Regions from separate parts of the Homo sapiens genome. Here region 2 is linked to region 1. Evidence: promoter capture Hi-C in human tissues and cell types (Jung and others, 2019). All regions are on one chromosome and are shown on one strand. Each heading gives the region's core, a stretch centred on a gene start or on the middle of the fragment in contact. The rest is flanking DNA. Distances are from core to core; before and after follow the strand shown.

Evidence for each region. Contacts are between HindIII fragments. The study calls those that stand out against the background at their distance.
Region 2: a fragment that was not itself captured here is called in contact with the fragment with the promoter of ST6GALNAC3 in region 1 in 1 of the 25 tissues and cell types used here (heart right ventricle).

What each region holds. Positions count from the first base shown.
Region 1 is chr1:76,072,838-76,077,717 of GRCh38, forward strand. It overlaps ST6GALNAC3 (ST6 N-acetylgalactosaminide alpha-2,6-sialyltransferase 3), which reads left to right and starts at 1,909. Exons shown (of 5, transcript NM_152996.4): 1 at 1,909-2,047. The coding sequence starts at 2,030. RefSeq lists a silencer at 1,710-1,909. The HindIII fragment of the contact is 7,284 bases long and covers 394-4,880 here.
Region 2 is chr1:76,277,151-76,282,030 of GRCh38, forward strand. The region is part of intron 1 of ST6GALNAC3 (ST6 N-acetylgalactosaminide alpha-2,6-sialyltransferase 3); the gene reads left to right. Among named protein-coding and RNA genes, the nearest start is that of ST6GALNAC3, 200 kb to the left of the region's middle. RefSeq lists an enhancer at 2,374-2,873. The HindIII fragment of the contact is 4,115 bases long and covers 429-4,543 here.

The sequences.
Region 1 (4,880 bases), core at 659-3,158:
AGATAATATTAGATAAGGTAAGGATTAAAGAGAGGTTAAGAAACTTGATCAAGGACACCCAGCAGGGAAGTACTTAGCAGGGCTGTTCACTAGGGCCTGCTGTTTCTCTTTCCAGATGTACAGACTTTCTAGAGAGAACGATGTGCTCTGCCCACCCTCACCCCTTTGCTCTGCTGTTCTGCCAGGGACATGCAGGAGACGGAGGCCTTCCTCTTAACCGCAAGAGGCCTTCCTTTTTTACTAATATTCCTCAGCACAGACCCTTTACGGGTGTCGGGCTGGGGGACGGTCAGGTGTTTCTCTTTCTCCTTCCTGAGATCTTTGCTTCCAATTTGGCTAAGGCCCTTTCCATGTTATAGTATCATGTATCTCTTATTCTTGTCTTTCTCACTTAACTGTGAGCCCACCTTGATGTTAGATATTCTGAAAGTCATTCTCCTATCCCTGAAAGGTCTTCAATAAAGATTTTTCCTCCACTTAGTGGAAGGTGAATAAAGTTTATTCTTCCATTTAGTAGTGGCTCAATAAAAAAGTTTGTGGAATCAATCAAGGGATGAGTAAATGAATGAAATACTGAATTTTCCTGGCCTATGAAGGACCATGAGCTAAAGCAGCGGTTTAAAGTATATAGTCCCAAACAAAGAATTCTTACTAAAAACACACCGGATCTGTAAGGCAGAGGAGGGAGGGGCGGGAGGAAGAAGTCGAAGAGCAGGGTGTGGTATTCCAGGGAGACTGAAGACAGGAGCTTCCCATGGGACAGGCAGTTCATCCACAGGCTCAGCTTCTGCAACCTCCTTCCTGTGGTTACTCCTGCTCTCTAAGAATTCTGCATGTTCTCATCAAGAAAATACCAAATTCCTTGAAAGCCTGGATTCTGCCTTGTGGTTTGTGAGCCAATCTCATGACACCACCAGCCCACAGTGCTTTTCCTGATTCCATGGAGGCAAACTAGACGGAGCTTCTAGCAAGTGAAACTTCTTTTGGGTAGATATTTGGGGGCCGCTTTTAAAATTTTTCTGACAGACCAAGTGGTAAAAATCTGTGTGTGTACACGGAATGCTCTCTCCCTTCTGCAATGCGTTTACTCTCCTTGTAGAAATAACTGCTTCTCTTAGCCGGCTCTTGCTTGGAGCAGGGAAGAGCAAAGTCCTATCATGTACACATACACAGTTTATAAACATATACTGTACAATCAACATGTACATATATAATACAATATACACATGTGTGCATCCTGTATCTGTATACTGTATATCATGCATATACAATTTCATAAACAAGCTTGTACCAGGAAAAGGCAATAATTTATATATTATACACACATACATGTATATGTAAAATATGTACACACACACAAAATATACCATACAGAGTGTAAGGTTCATGACGTCTTTCTTTCGTTGATATTTGTGCTCACTTATTAGCGGTAAATTATTAATTTTAGATAAGCCCATCACAGAGTGAAGGCTCAATCCTTGAACAGCCCAGGGAGAACTTCGTTGCTACTTTTGAAAAGCCCTTTGATGTGCCCAAAGTCTCCAGAAGGGCGATGCCAAACCCACTCAACTTTGACAAAGTGTGAAACGTCTGTAAAAAGGAGTTCTCTGATGTGTGAGAGGAGACGGAACCGAGAAGAAAAGGCCGTACTCTGCCCCCCGCGGGACCCAGGTCCCCGCCTGCTGCAGAGCGCACTCTGCGCACGTCGAGCCGCGAAAGGTTCACAGAAGAAAACAAGAGAAAGAAGTAGCAGGCACTGAGGAGCCGCCGGCGCCGGCGCCCAGGACGGCACGTGACCCGGGGGCGGGGCCGCGCGGGCCGCGGGCCAGTGGATGGGGACGGGGGCGGGGCCGCGGCTCGGGGGGCGGGGTCTGTGGCGGCGCAGCTTACACCGCGGTCCCCTTATTTGGATCTGCGGGAATGTGGGCTGGAGAGGTCCTGCCGTGGTACCAGCCTCCAGCCTGCCCCCAGGACTGCCCCTGACCCAGGCGCGCCCGCTGCTCGGTGGCAGGAGGGCCGGCGGAGCGCCATGGCCTGCATCCTGAAGGTAACGACTTGGATCTGTGGCTCGGACGCGTGGTTGGCCAGCCCCTTGCTGCTCAGAGGCACGGAGTCAGCCGCGGTCCCACCGCATCCTCATCTCAGTTGTCTTTTCCTGGCATTGATTTTCTTTTTGTTCCTTTGGCAAATGCATATGGAGGGAGATTCTGAAACATGCAGCTGGCACAGCTTCTTTTCCCACCATTCCTGCCTCCTGCTCGCGCCTGCATTGAAGGAGCTGCAGACTGTTGGCTCCAGGGGAGAGCAGGGCTGTGTGCCGAATAATGGGGATGGTAGGGAGAGGAGGGGTGTTCCCGCGGGTCCCGCGGCTCTGTGGAGCCTGAGGCCTTTCAGGGGCCACGGGGAGGGGTGGAGTGGCTAGGCGTGAGTTGCTGGTGGTGAGGGGCATAGCGCTTTAAATGGAGGGAAGAGTGAGCGGAGGTGGGCTCTACTGTGCATTTGATCATGTGAAGACAGAAACTTCTGAGTTTACAGGTAGTCCCTTAGGAATGAGTTTTCTATGAGATCTGCTAGCTCTGTTTGCCCTTAGCTCTACTTTGGAAAAGTTCACACGAGGATGTATATGTTAGTAGAGAACCTCTCACTCTCTTTATGCTCATAAATTTGAATAGACAAAATGATTTTATGCTCTGCCAGAGTGCGCTCAGCCATCCCTTCTTTGTTGAGTTTTCTTTCTCCAAGACCGGATTCTTAGCCTCACCTGAGCATCTTTCTGGGTTCACAGACTTGTGGCCTCAGGTGGGAGAACTTGGTGTGAGGGCCTCACTTAAAAAGAACTTTCCATCCCACTGGTAGAGGCCTCCCCTGCCCTCGTTTTTTTTTTTGCACTACCTTTCTACAAGAACATAACCTGGATGCATGAATCAAAAACATGAACAGCATGAAAGTTTCCTGGGCCTTGACTGGAGAATGCAGAGACCTAGTTGTCCAAGCCTGGGGGAACTGTGTGACGATGGAAAATACCAGGAAACAATTCGTTGTTGTTGTGTTATTGTGAAGTAGCATTTATTTCTCTATAAGATGATATTAAGTCATCTACTGTGTTCTGGTTACCTGAATCGTCTTCTAACGTGCCTGGTGTCAATGATGAAAATAAGAGACTAACCTCGTAGAAGTTGTTTCCCCTTCTTTGCGTAAAGGAGATCAGAAGTTTCCTGTGAGCTTTCTGAACTTCCTCTTTTTGTTTCAGAACATTTTCCAGGACATGAGGAAATAATACATCAGTATTACAGTATGGGGTATTTGACCGGGAGGCTCTTAGCACAAGGACTGAAATATGAATATGAGTCATCTTTACTATTCATTGTGTTATTTGCTGAAAGGGACATTGAGGAGCATGATATTTATTGCTGGCCATCTTTTTCTGTTTTGGTTTCTCCCCTGCCTTGTCCTATACATGTGGTAAACATCTTTAATGCACATCCCAAACTACACATGAATCTGGTCCAATCTTTCTCTTCTAGCACTTCACACTGCTTTCAGACATTTGGGACATATCTGTCCACCTTATCTTCCCTCCACTGAAACTAATGTGGGCTTTAGACTCAGAAAGATATGTCTGGATGCTGGCTCTGCCCACTGCTACCTCTGTGATGTTGGACAAGTTACTTAAATGTCTCTGGGCCTTAGTTTCTTCAATATAAGATCAAAGTAGTGGCACCTGCTTCACAAGGTTGCTGTGGGAATGAAATAAGATAGGGTATGAAAAATACTTTGTGGCACAGGCATTTAATATGTGCCATTTTTTTCCTCTAACATATAATAATAAGTGCAGTTTGGTTGATCCTTACTATATCCTCAGTCTGTTTCTTATAACTATTATTTTTTATAAAATACAAAATGTTTTTTATTCTTTAATCTTTACATAAAACCCTGAAAGATAAGTATCATTGTTTTAAACCCCATTTTACAGATGAGAAAGTTGACGCTCCCTAGTTTAAGAGATTTGCCCAAGGCCACACAGGGTTAATGACAGAGTGATCCTGGATTTAGACCCAGATATGTCAACCTTCCATATACTTTACTGCTGTTCCAGTACTTTCCCAGGTGATGACTTTTAAGATGGCCTAATACCATTCAGTTCCAACCACCTTTGAGCACCTTTGAGCAATCCCCTTCTCTGGTCATGGTCTAGACAGTCTGGGCTGGATCTTTTTTCTTTGTTGTCTTTGAAAAGCTACACATGGAGCAGTGCAGAATACAGGTTTCAGTCCAGAGACCTGAGTTCAGTGCAAGCCTGGCTTCTTGCATATGATTTTAGACAGCTGCTGCAACCTGGAGCCTCAGTTTTCCCTTGTTGAAGTGTTCATAGAATTATAACCATTGCGTTACAGGGTTTTTATGAGGATAAAACTATGGACTTTTTTTTTTTTAATGAAATATTTTCTGCCATTTGCTGACCCTGGACTTGGTGTTGGCATATGTAGAAAAGGAAAGATTTTCCTCTGCCCTCTTAGTTTCTGTGCCTGGTCCTGATAGCTAAACTGACAAAAGGCATATTAACAGAGGAAAAACATACACATTTTATTTGATGTTAATGTTTTTATGTGTACCACAGAGGGCTTCCTATATAAGAAATAAAGACCCGAAGAAGGGGAGAGGCCTGAGAGTTTATAAAGCATTTTAATAGAGAAGGATAAATTGTGGAAATGTGACAAGACAAAGGAAAAAGGGGGTTTGGGCTGGGGCAGTCGATTGTGAGAAAGTGGGAAATGTATGGGGAAAACTAATGGAAAATAGGTGAGTGTTTTTACTAGAGATTTATTTTGGTGTTGACTCTCCATCTTTGATCATAAGAATGTTCTCCTCTTCCTGGCACA
Region 2 (4,880 bases), core at 1,236-3,735, 200 kb after region 1:
AAGGTGGTCAAATTATCAAACTATTCCTTATGGTTGATATTTTGTTGTCTTATTTTTAAAATTATTTTCTACTCCAACCTCATATATATTTGTGTATGCCTATGTGTGTGTGTGTATTTACATATGGGCTTATATATTTGGGCAATGTGGTACTGATATATTTGGGCAGTGTGGTACTGACACAAAGACAGACCAATGAGACACAATGGAAAGCCCAGAAATGAATCCATGCATATATGTAAATTTGGTAGATGACATTACAGATAACTGGGAAAAGATAAGTGGAAACAATTAATTTCTATATTCAAAAAATAGATGGAATAAGACCCCCTCCTTCATAACAGGTCAATTAAAGACATATATGTATATGTTTATGTGTATATATATATATATATATATATATATATATATATATATACACACACACATATGTTTATGTGTATATATATATATATATATATACACACACACACACACACACACACATTTCTACATATGTAGCTGTATATACACGAATATACACATATATGTCTTTAACTTAACGTGAAGGAGGAGTCTTATTTCATCTGTGTTTTAATATGGCTAATAATTGTCTCAGCATCATTTACGTTTCCCAATAATCTGTAATGGTATCTCTGTCATCTACCAAATTTCCCCATATGCCTGGATTTATTTCTGGGCTGTCTGTGGTGTGCCTTTGGTCTGTTGTCTTTGAGTCAGTACCATATTGCCACTAGCTTCTATACATTTACAATGAGCTTTAAGTCTGGTTACACAAGTCTCCTCCCACATTCTCACGCCTAGACCTTATTCTTCAGGAATGTCTTGGTCATTCTTGGCCTTTTGCATTTCTACAGAAATTTTATAATAATCTTGGAGATTTTTAATATTTTTATGAAATTTCATTAAATTTATAGTTTTGGGGAAGAGTTGGTATCTTTGTAACATTATAATGTTGAGTCTTTCTATCTATATTTCTATCCAAATCTACTTATTTAGATCTTCACTGTCTTTCGTCACTATAATAAATGGTATCTTTCAGTATCATGTATTCTCATTATTGCTAGGCATTCTTTTTTTTTTTTTTTGAGATGGAGTCTCGCTCTGTCATCCCAGGCTGGAGTGCAGTGGCGCGATCTCGGCTCACTGCAAGCTCCGCCTCCCGGGTTCACGCCATTCTCCTGCCTCAGCCTCCCGAGTAGCTGGGACTACAGGGGCCCGCCACCATGCCCAGCTAATTTTTTGTATTTTTAGTAGAGACGGGGTTTCACCGTGTTAGACAGGATGGTCTCAATCTCCTGACCTGGTGATCCGCCCATCTCGGCCTCCCAAAGTACTGGGATTATAGGCTGCTAGGCATTCTTTTTTTTAATGGATTTCAGTGTTTAAAGAATTCAAGAAGAGCCTTTGATATCTGGTTACCTCTACTTTTTGAGGAAACCAAATCCCTGATGCAGAGAATGAAAGAGTTTGTCTATCTGCTTGAACGGAGAAGAAAAGAAAAATAAACAGAAAATGTTGCAATTTGAAAGTAATTTTAGTAAATTTGCCTGCCACACCTACATAATCTTATTTAATCCTCACCACAACGTTCGAAGTTAGGTGTTATTTGTCCTATTTTCATGACAAGGGAAACCAAGGTTTAGGAAAGCCAAGTAATTTACTCAAAGTCACAGAGCGAATGTGTTTATGGTAAAGCCAGGATTTAAAATCAGGTGGATTTCACACCAAAATAGTTCTGTTCATCGCGTAGTACTTTCCCTCGGGCAAGAAGAATGTTCACAATTTTCTAAGCATTTGAGTACAATGACCGGAATGGATAATCCTTTCTGTAGACAATTATGTGGCTCTGTCTCCCCTCACTAAGGTCAGCAGACATTTGATACAACTTTATCCATCTCTTCTTGTCACTGTTGCTGGCTGAGGGGGCCACTTGGCTCCCAGGGAGGAGATTTTGCACACCTGAGGAAACAGACAGCAGACAGCACCAACATGCTTCCCCTAGACTGCATTTGGACACACACAGCCAGGCAGGGGAACTGAAATTGTAGAGCAGCAGTCTGTGTGGAGTCATTTTAATGTTTTCTTAAACAGTCAGTGATGGAAAACTTTGATAACAACTCAAGTGAAAGCTTATGGCTGCGAAAAGCCTCCTCTGTGGATCTGACTGGAAAGGATTCTCTGCTGAATATGGCTTAGATGCCTGAGCCCCGTGTTCTTTGGTAAGAAAATTACCGCAAGTCATTCGCCATCTGTGATCCTCAGGGGTGGAATCTTTTGCTGGAAGACACAGTTATTATCAATCAACCTGTGCTAGCCAACAGGCCTCCAGAGCTTCGCGGGTGGGGGGAATGTTGTTACAGAAGAAACGGGAAAGAGGAGCCTTTGTGGGAAAGGGTGGTTAGTATTCTTGATGGCTTGTCAGAGGCAGTAGTGGCCATAATCACGTGAGTGCAGCACTTGAGCTGGTTCAGAGCTGCAGTGCCTGGAGTCGTGTCTGCCGGCAGCTGCCGGAGGCGGAAGTGGCGTCCATGGTAGCCACTTCGTCAGGAGGGCTCCTCAGGTTTTAGAGCCAGAGCACAACTGTGACTCCTATACCAGGCACACTGGACCTCAGGAGCCTTGCTGGAGTCTCCTCAGAATTCACAAAAGAAATATGAAGAATTAGGAAGAAAGTTAAAACTTAGTAGAGATCCTCTTTATAGATGCAACTTGAGAAACAGCGCACAGATATAGGTTACTCGACTGGAGGAGTTCTGTGTTTGTGTTTTCCTATTATAAAGAGTTCGGGAGAAAGTGGGGTGCTTGCTAACCATTGGTTCTCTCTCCTGTCTCTCTCCTGTCTTTTCTCTCATCTTGCCCTTTCTCTTTTGCCATTGCCCCTTTTCTCATTTTTCGTTCTCTTATTTGTTCTTTCCTTCTCCCTCCACTTCTCCTTCGCCTTTTCTCTCTTGCTTCTTTCTCTGCTTCACTTCATTCTCCCTGTTCTGTCCTCTCTTCCAGTCGCCCTTTTTTCCAACCCACCCTTTGCTATGTTCTGAATTAGTGATTGCCTAAGTGGAAAGATGGAGACAGTTTCAGAAATCCTATTTATTTTAGTTCATCAGTTGTTACTGCTTACTTTTTGTTTGAATATATTTGGGGTATATTCTCAAAAATATGTTGATAATGGAGTACAGAAATTCTGGTGACTGTTACTCTCCAATGTCTCTCTTTTCTTCCTAGAACTAACTACTAGTCCTTTCCAGTTCGGGTAGATGGATTATATTTCTTGCATAGTACTTTCAGCATTTATCATTTTTGGTAAATGAATACCTAATGTGCCGCTAGGGAAGCTAAATTCATACCTATTTCAGCTGGGGTGAGCACTGTGACCTTCTGTTACACATACCTATTGCTGCCACCAGAGACAGAAGATTGAGTTGGATGCACTATGGGTAGAGACAAGGGCTGGTGCTACTTACTTATCAGAAAGGATTCTTGTAAGAATTAAATGAAATAATGGGCATAGAATTTAGAATTAAATAATGTTATGTGCATGGTATGCTACAAAGATTTGGATTCAGACCTCTTTACAAATCTCAGATTCGTCATTTACTAGCATGCAAACTTGGGCAAGTCACTTTATTCTACTTGAACCTTTTCTTTTCTATAAAATGAGGTCAATAAATAATATTCATTTACAAATTGATCATCAAGGCAAATGAGATAATACATGAAATCTCCTAAAATAGAGTAGATGCTCACTGAATATCACCTTACTTCCCTCCACCCAACTATGCATTTATTTATCTGTCAAACATTTATATTATGCTCACTTTATGCCATGCACTGTTCTAAGAGCTTTATAAATTTAACTCTTCAATATCATCATAGTCTTTTGAGTACTTACTATTACTATCTCGTTTTGCAGATTGGTAAGCTGAAGCAAAGGAGGTTTAATAACTTGTTTAAAGCCTCATGGATAGTAAGTAGCAGAGCCACTAACTGATATTTTTGTGCCGACACCTTAATTCAAGCTTTTTTCTCCTTTAACTGAAGATATTATTGCCCTGAGATATTACCTTGAAATCGATATAGATTTTTTTCTTGAGTTTGCAAATTTTCTCTCTTAGAAGGCCTGAGGAAAAAATAACATTAAACAAATGCACACTTAATTATGAGTTCATTTTCTGTGTTAATGTAGTAAAGAGGTGAATGAATGTCATAAAATATACTCTCATTTGGTTCCACCCTGAGAGAGCCGTTGGATTGCAGCCCCAGTGCTTTTCAGCAGGGAAGCTGGCCAGAGATGCCTGCAGCCTGCTGGGGAGTGTGTGGGTAGCTCCTCCAGCAGTGTGCCTGCACTCCTCATCTGCACAGAGCATGCACAGTGTTCAAAGGCACACAGATGGGGACTCAAGTGGGGCCAAGATCACTGGGAAGAGTGTCGGAAAATGAAACCTGGCCAACAGACAGCACCCTTCTGTTTAATCAGAATGCTGGAGCCAGGTCCAGAGAATAATGACTACAAACTGGCTGTGCCTTGGGCCTATTCAGCATCTTGTTCTCATTTTCAAGTGTTTGGTCCTTGGGAAGGTCTCAAAGTTCACTTTGCTACTCGATTATGCTGCCTATTGAGGAATTTTCAAGGCAAAGTGAATTCATGTGACCTGGATTCATTATTATTTAAGATTATTAACACATTTTTAGACCGAATTGGCAGTAAGGAAAGGGAGGAAGGAAACATCTATTGAGGTCATACCAGGTGCTGGGTGCTGTAGTGGGCACTTCTATGCATGTTAGCTCAACTGACGATACCAGAGAAGTGGAAATTACTTCAGATTGTCATGAAAAAGACAAATGGAGAAGGTGGGATGCATGAAAAATAGACTTTTAAA